Regions from separate parts of the Homo sapiens genome. Here regions 2 and 3 are each linked to region 1. Evidence: promoter capture Hi-C in human tissues and cell types (Jung and others, 2019). All regions are on one chromosome and are shown on one strand. Each heading gives the region's core, a stretch centred on a gene start or on the middle of the fragment in contact. The rest is flanking DNA. Distances are from core to core; before and after follow the strand shown.

Region 1 (2,735 bases), core at 143-2,642:
TTGAGCGAAGTTGGCTGAGTATGCGTGTGACACACACACAGACACATCGCTCCGGGGGAGAAACCCTTCCGGTTCTCCACAGCCGCCCACGGTCCTCGTTGAGACTGGACTCATCTCAGCTCAGCTCAGAGATTTGGCTGCAGGATCCGACCCTCCCTTGCCAAAAAGACCCGTTCTAGGGGTGACTGCGCATTACTCCCACCCCCACCGCTCCGACCGGCCCCAGGAGAAGCCCTTCTAGGAGAGAAGAGGCGACCCCCACCTACCGTCCCCGACCACTGGGAGGCCTAAGGGCTGCACTGGACTCCGGCGCCCCGAGCGCCACCAAGGGAGTGCGCGCCCTTCCCAGCCGCTGGTGGCACAGTCCCAAAGCCCCGCCCATGCGGGGGGTCGCCAAGTCCTAAGCCTCCACCCCCTTTATCCCTGTGCCCCATCCGGAGGCAGGTGTACCCGTCACGCAAACCTAAAGCTGCCCCCGGCCCCCCGTGGTTCCCCGCAGGAGGCGGGGGTGTGTGTCACTTTTCTGAAAGCTCTAAGGTCTCTGCCCCCCGCCCCCCGCTGTCCTCCGTAGGAGGCTGGGCAGGGGCTGTGGCACAGCTCTAAATCCCTGCGGGTGCTTGCTTGCCCCAGGCAGCTTCCAGGACCCGCAGCCCCCCGCCTTCCCCGCAACCCGCTTCGGGAGGAGCCGGACGCTCGGGGATTCCGCGATGCGTCCGCGAACGCTCGGGTCGGGCCGCACGCGGGAGATGAGCGCGCCTCCGCCGTCCTCTCCAAATCCCTTATGTCAACCGGGGTTTTCTTCTTTCATTTAAAAGTTGCGCTTTAAACCAAGTGGGACGCAGATCCGGTAGCTGCCTATTGGGCTTCAAAGTCCAGGGAGTTTTAGTCGGGGTGAAGCATTTTAGCCTCCGTGCGTCTTGCTGTAAAATGGGTAACCCTCCTCGACAGCCTCCGCAGTCCTTAATGGGTGGGGGGGGGCTCCCCGGCCTCTCGGCCCCAGTCCTCCGCCCCCGGGTCCTACCCGCGCGGCACTCCTGGCGGCGGTCTCCGTGGATCTGTTCTGCCGGGGTGGGGAGCCAGGCTCTGAGCCGCGGCCCCGAGCCCGAGGTGCGGAGCCACCGCCCCACGGGTAGCGGCCACCGGGGGCCCCAGCCCCACCTTTCCCGGCCCTGTTGCCTCGGCCCCGCCCCACCGGGAGGCTGGGTGGGGAGGCCTCCGGGGAGTAGGGCCCCAGTCCCCGTCCCGGCCGCGCCCTCGCGTCTCCATAGCGATCCTCTCGGCGCGCACCTCCGAGCCGGCTCCCCCCGGGGCCGAACAATACGCCGCTGGGCCGGGGGCGGGGCGGGGCCGGGCCGGGGGCGGGGAGAGCGCGGGCGGAGTGGGCGCGGGCCAAGCGCACCGCCCAGGCAGCAGCCGGCCGCCGGGGTCTGCGCGGCGCGGAGCTGCCCAGCCCGCTCCGGGAACTCAGCCCCCGCCCCGCGCCGGGCCCGCCCCGCTTCCCACGCCCGTCCGGCCGAGCCCGCGCCGGAGCCACCTGGAGCCGCCTGGAGCCGCCGCCGCCGCCGCAGGTTGATGCGCGGCGCCCTCCCGGGACGCGCGGAGGAGCCATCTTGAAACCAACTTCGCAAACTTTCGCAAAGTGCTCTCGAAGTGGAAGCTGCGGGGGAGGCCGGGCGCGTGGTCCCCACAGTCCCCGCCAGGGCCCCCGGGGAGGCGGGACGCGGACCGCCCCGAGGGCCGGGCGCCCGGGAGCCGCTCCCCGGCCTCGCCGGGTGGATGCGGAGGCGCGCCGGGTGCATGGATTGTGTTCGGGCGCCCGGCTCGGGCTCGGGCTCCGGGCCATGGCGCCGCCGCCGCCGCCCGTGCTGCCCGTGCTGCTGCTCCTGGCCGCCGCCGCCGCCCTGCCGGCGATGGGGCTGCGAGCGGCCGCCTGGGAGCCGCGCGTACCCGGCGGGACCCGCGCCTTCGCCCTCCGGCCCGGCTGTACCTACGCGGTGGGCGCCGCTTGCACGCCCCGGGCGCCGCGGGAGCTGCTGGACGTGGGCCGCGATGGGCGGCTGGCAGGACGTCGGCGCGTCTCGGGCGCGGGGCGCCCGCTGCCGCTGCAAGTCCGCTTGGTGGCCCGCAGTGCCCCGACGGCGCTGAGCCGCCGCCTGCGGGCGCGCACGCACCTTCCCGGCTGCGGAGCCCGTGCCCGGCTCTGCGGAACCGGTGCCCGGCTCTGCGGGGCGCTCTGCTTCCCCGTCCCCGGCGGCTGCGCGGCCGCGCAGCATTCGGCGCTCGCAGCTCCGACCACCTTACCCGCCTGCCGCTGCCCGCCGCGCCCCAGGCCCCGCTGTCCCGGCCGTCCCATCTGCCTGCCGCCGGGCGGCTCGGTCCGCCTGCGTCTGCTGTGCGCCCTGCGGCGCGCGGCTGGCGCCGTCCGGGTGGGACTGGCGCTGGAGGCCGCCACCGCGGGGACGCCCTCCGCGTCGCCATCCCCATCGCCGCCCCTGCCGCCGAACTTGCCCGAAGCCCGGGCGGGGCCGGCGCGACGGGCCCGGCGGGGCACGAGCGGCAGAGGGAGCCTGAAGTTTCCGATGCCCAACTACCAGGTGGCGTTGTTTGAGAACGAACCGGCGGGCACCCTCATCCTCCAGCTGCACGCGCACTACACCATCGAGGGCGAGGAGGAGCGCGTGAGCTATTACATGGAGGGGCTGTTCGACGAGCGCTCCCGGGGCTACTTCCGAATC
Region 2 (2,735 bases), core at 100-2,599, 280 kb after region 1:
AAGATGAAATCAGAATATTCAAAAGAAAGAAGAGGATCAAGAGAAGAGCACTCCTGTTTCTGAGTTACATTCTAACTCACTTTATCTTTCTAGCCCTTCTGTTGATCCTTATCGTCTTACTACGTCACACTGACTGCTTTTACTATAACCAGTTTATTCGTGATCGGTTCTCTATGGATCTTGCTACTGTGACTAAGCTGGAAGACATCTATAGATGGCTAAACAGCGTGCTGTTGCCTTTGTTACACAATGACCTGAATCCAACATTTCTTCCTGAAAGCTCGTCTAAAATCCTTGGCCTTCCATTGATGAGGCAAGTGAGAGCAAAATCTAGTGAAAAAATGTGTCTACCTGCCGAAAAGTTTGTGCAAAACAGCATCAGAAGAGAAATTCATTGTCACCCCAAATATGGCATTGACCCAGAAGACACAAAAAACTATTCTGGCTTTTGGAATGAAGTTGATAAGCAGGCTATAGATGAGAGTACCAATGGATTTACTTATAAGCCTCAAGGAACGCAATGGCTATATTATTCCTATGGACTACTACACACCTATGGATCTGGAGGATATGCACTCTATTTTTTTCCAGAACAGCAGCGGTTTAATTCCACACTGAGGCTCAAAGAACTTCAAGAAAGCAATTGGCTGGATGAGAAGACATGGGCTGTGGTTTTGGAATTAACAACTTTTAATCCAGATATAAATCTGTTCTGTAGCATTTCGGTCATATTTGAAGTCTCTCAGTTAGGAGTTGTCAACACAAGCATATCTCTGCACTCTTTTTCACTTGCTGATTTTGACAGAAAAGCTTCAGCAGAAATCTACTTGTATGTGGCCATTCTCATTTTTTTCTTAGCCTACGTTGTTGATGAGGGTTGTATCATTATGCAAGAAAGAGCCTCCTATGTGAGAAGTGTGTATAATTTGCTCAACTTTGCTTTAAAGTGCATATTTACTGTGTTGATTGTGCTCTTTCTCAGGAAACATTTCCTGGCCACTGGCATAATTCGGTTTTACTTGTCGAACCCAGAAGACTTCATTCCCTTTCATGCAGTTTCTCAGGTAGATCACATTATGAGGATAATTTTGGGTTTCCTGTTATTTCTGACAATTTTGAAGACCCTCAGGTATTCCAGATTCTTCTACGATGTGCGCCTGGCTCAGAGGGCCATCCAGGCTGCCCTCCCTGGCATCTGCCACATGGCATTTGTTGTGTCCGTGTATTTCTTCGTATACATGGCTTTTGGTTACCTGGTGTTTGGTCAGCATGAATGGAACTACAGTAACTTGATTCATTCCACTCAGACAGTATTTTCCTATTGTGTCTCAGCTTTCCAGAACACTGAATTTTCCAATAACAGGATTCTGGGGGTCCTGTTCCTCTCATCTTTCATGCTGGTGATGATCTGCGTCTTGATCAACTTATTTCAGGCTGTAATTCTGTCTGCATATGAGGAAATGAAGCAGCCCGTGTATGAGGAGCCATCGGATGAAGTGGAAGCAATGACCTATTTGTGCCGTAAGCTGAGAACCATGTTCAGCTTTCTGACCTCGCAATCTAAGGCCAAAGATGAGCCTGAGTTCTTTATTGACATGCTGTATGGGCAGCCAGAGAAGAACAGCCACCGTTATCTGGGGCTGAAGACCAGAAACATCAACGGGAAGAAAATGGTTTACCTTGTTGTTTGATGAATGATGGTTTCATGAGTCACAAGCAAGCGTTCCCCCAACTGCTGAGTCTGTGGGATTAAGGGGATTAGGGAGTGTCAGTGGCCTAGTCATGCTTTCTACTCATGTCCTTCACAAGGCACATCCCCTACATTTGGAAGAATCCCCAATCTTGTCCTCTGCTCTTGGGAGTGTAAAAGTTGGGAGTGTAGTGTAGCATCTGGGGAGACAGCAGGATCACAGTGTGGGATTCCTGGACTGATTTCCCTTTAGAGGGGAGTTATGTGACTCCCCGTACAAGGGCAACCCTGTTTCTTTGGTGCCTGCAGTTTAGAGAAGGCAGAGCCACTGGTTTTGAGAACCAGATTTGAGAGAGGGACCTGGCCAGGGTGGAGCATTGTCTGGGTGTTTCTGCGCTTGACCCATGCTGGAAGCTAATGGCCTGTTGCTCCTGACAGAGCCCCAAACTCCTCGGCCTCACTGGGAGGCCCCTTTGTAGACCAGGGCTCCCCTCCTCTTGTTCCCCCTGGGCTTAGGGCCTCGTGGGGAGTTCCAGGACTTGCTTCATGCTTGAGAATGCAGATGTGGTGCTTCTCATTTATTCTTAAAGCTACTGGTAGTTAAAGTAAAATTCAGTAACATTTTCTGACCAAGAGACATGTTTTGTTAAACAACAAAAAGGTACATATGGGTTCACATTGAAATATGTCTATATGCTGAATATAGCAACATATGCATCTAAGATTTGGGCATTTGGTTATTAATAGCGTGCTGGACTATTCAGGAATAAGGAAAATGTGGTTTATCACTTAAGAGAAACAAGGGCTGGTAGCTGTACTATTTTCACTCAGAAGCATGTTCATTTATGTAGATGCCACTTTAAGCTTTATCAGAATTAAATGTGAGATTTCTTCTTTGAGCCTTGCAGTGATTTCTGTGTGAGGGGCATATACACACATAGCTGCTGCCCTCAAAGTGGAGTCCCAGAAAAGGGGGACAACCAAATGAGATGGGTGGCTGCTTTATACACACCTCGGTGTCCATCATCCTCAGCTGCACTGAAAT
Region 3 (2,735 bases), core at 78-2,577, 260 kb after region 1:
CAGTCTCTCTGAGGAAGTGAGACCAGGGATGGGGTTCGCCGGGGTCACACACGAATGGTGCCCCTCATATGCCCTGGTCCAGCCAACGGCTACTCCCTGAGGGGTCAGGCACCTTAGGAAGGACCCACTTACCTCTTTGGCGAGTTTTTCTGCCTGGTCGTAGAAGTTGGTTTCCATCAAGCCAAAAGAGTAGATGCCTTTCACATAGCTAAAAACAGAAAAAAAGATCTCAGAATACAAAATGATGGATGGGTAGCAGGTTGAACTGTGTCCCCGCAAAGATACACTGAGGTCCTAACTGCCAGCACTGGGAATGTGACCTTTTTTGGAAATAGGGTCTTTGCAGAGGTAATAAGTTTAGAGGAGGTCATACGGGATTAGGGTGGGCCCTAACGCAATGACTGGTGTCCTTACAAGAGGGCCGTGTGAAGACACAGATGCCGAGGGAAGGCGGCAGGTAAAGACCAAGGCAGAGTGATACAGCTGCGAGCCAAGGGACTTCAAGGAACTCTGGGCACCACCAGAAATTGGAAGAGGCAGGAAGGACCCACCCCTGAGGCTCTGAGGGCACTGCCCTTGCTGACACCTTAGATGGGACTCTTGGCCCTCAAAGCTGTGAGTACCTGTCTGCTGCTCCAAACCACCCAGTTTGCAGCCCTTCGCTACAGCAACCGCAGGAGACTGATGCAACCTCCAACCCCACGCCAAGCTCTGTGCTTGTCAGCAATTCCATGCTTCTGACTGGTGAGGGGCAAGGTGAACATTACATCCGCACAATCATCCCCAAGCCCAGCACGGAGAGCGGCCCTGCTCCTCAATTAGCATCCCACCTTCTAAGAATCAACACGGGTCTCCACTGAGAGTAACAAGGGTCTCCTCCCGCTCCTGTCTGCATGGTGACATCCACCCAGAGGCATGACCCAGGGGCACCTCCCTGGGAAGCCTCCGTGACCTGTGGGCTGTCAACAGCTCCTCCTTGACTTCTGCAGTGCTGTACACAGTCCCCTGCCCGGCCTGGAATGCACTCAGTGAATGGCCGGGTCCTCCCCAGACCTGGAGCTCCCACAGGCTGGGACCTGTCTGTCCAACTCAGCCTCAGCCCAGGCCCAGCCCAGGATGGGCTAGAAGACACTGCTGAATAATTGCACGCTTCCAATCTCTCTCTTTTTTTTTTTTTTTTTTTTTTTTGGAGACAGAGTCTCGCTCTGTTGCCCAGGCTGGAGTGCAGTGGCACAATCTCAGCTCACTGCAACCTCCGCCTCCTGAGTTCAAGCAATTCTCCTTCCTCAGTCTCCTGAGTAGCTGGGATTACAGGCACATGCCACCTCGCCCAGCTAATTTTGGTATTTTTAGTAGAGACGGGGTTTCACCATGTTGGCCAGGCTGGCCTCAAACTCCTGACCTCAGGTGATCCACCCGCCTCGGCCTCCCAAAGTGCTGGGATTCCAGGCATGAGCCATTGCGTCCCGCCCACACTTCCAATCTCATCTGCAACTGCGCACCCGAGTATCTAGGGTGGTCACACATGAAACAAGTTTTCTTTCCTGTGGTTTCTCGGGGTTAAGTGAAAACAAAATAGGGCAATAGGGCTTCTGTTTGAGACTAAGATGTTAGCTTCATTACTTTGCAAGAAGACTGATTCTAGCTTTTGTTATTCATTGAAGCAATGTTCTTAAGCACTGGCTTCCAGAGTTATCTTTAAAATGTATGTGTGTGTGTGTGTGTGTGTGTGTGTGTGTGTGTGTGTATGTATATATATGTATTGTTTACTGGGGTCATTTAATCCTCAACACTTAAGCTATTTATTGTATGTTTGCTGTGTGTCAGGTACTATTAGGTTTCATGACGGTTAATTTTTATCTGTCAATTTGGCTGGCCCGTGGTGCTCAGCTGTTTGGCGAAACACCAGTCTAGGTGTTGCGGTGAAAGTATTTTTTATATATATATATGTTTATATATATATATATATTTAATATATATATTTTAATATATAATTTTTAATATATATTTTAATATATATTTAATATATATTTTTAATATATGTATTTTATATATATTTTTTTAATATATATATTTTTAATATATATATTCTTTTAGATACAGAGTCTTGCTCTGCTGCCCAGGCTGAGTGCAGTGGCATGATCGCCAGCTCACTGCAGCCTCAAACTCCTGGGCTCAAGGGAACCTCCCGCCACAGCCTCCTGAGTAGCCGGAACTACAGGCACATGCCACCATGCCTGGCTAACTTTTTTAATTTATTTTTTCTTTTTGTAGAGACAGAGTCTTGCCATGTTGACCAAGCTTATCTCAAACTCCTGGGCTCAAGCAATCCTACCGCCTCAGCTTCCCAAACAGCTGGGATTACAGGCATAAGCCACTGTGCCCAGTCTCGTGAAGGTATTTCTAGATGCGATTTGAGTAAAGCAGATTACCCTCCATGTGGGTGGGCCTCATCCAATCAGTTAAAGGCCTTAAGAGAAAGACGGAGGCCCCTAGAAGAAGAAATTCTGCCTGCAGACTGCCTCCAGATGTAAGACTAATGCTGACTCCTGCAGCGATTTCCAGCTTGCTGCCCTGCCCTACAGATTTTGAACTTGCCAGCCCTCACACTCACATGAGCCAATTCCTTAAAATAAATCTCCATCTCTCTCTCTGTCTCAGAGCTCTCTGGGCTTCTCTGGAGAGTGCTGACTAAATAATACAGCTTATTAACCTGTCCGAACCTCACAACTATT

What was found. Contacts are between HindIII fragments. The study calls those that stand out against the background at their distance.
Region 2: a fragment that was not itself captured here is called in contact with the fragment with the promoter of CELSR1 in region 1 in 1 of the 25 tissues and cell types used here (mesenchymal stem cells).
Region 3: a contact is called between a fragment that was not itself captured here and the fragment with the promoter of CELSR1 in region 1, in 3 of the 25 tissues and cell types used here (H1 embryonic stem cells, bladder and thymus).

The regions. Positions count from the first base shown.
Region 1 is chr22:46,536,277-46,539,011 of GRCh38, reverse strand. It overlaps CELSR1 (cadherin EGF LAG seven-pass G-type receptor 1), which reads left to right and starts at 1,392. Exons shown (of 35, transcript NM_001378328.1): 1 at 1,392-2,735. The coding sequence starts at 1,842. The HindIII fragment of the contact is 25,460 bases long and covers 1-2,735 here.
Region 2 is chr22:46,255,517-46,258,251 of GRCh38, reverse strand. It overlaps PKDREJ (polycystin family receptor for egg jelly), which reads left to right. Exons shown (of 1, transcript NM_006071.2): 1 at 1-2,589. The coding sequence ends at 1,691. Among named protein-coding and RNA genes, the nearest start is that of PKDREJ, 6.5 kb to the left of the region's middle. The HindIII fragment of the contact is 5,387 bases long and covers 1-2,735 here.
Region 3 is chr22:46,276,059-46,278,793 of GRCh38, reverse strand. It overlaps TTC38 (tetratricopeptide repeat domain 38), which reads right to left. Exons shown (of 14, transcript NM_017931.4): 6 at 133-208. Among named protein-coding and RNA genes, the nearest start is that of TTC38, 9.4 kb to the right of the region's middle. The HindIII fragment of the contact is 6,479 bases long and covers 1-2,735 here.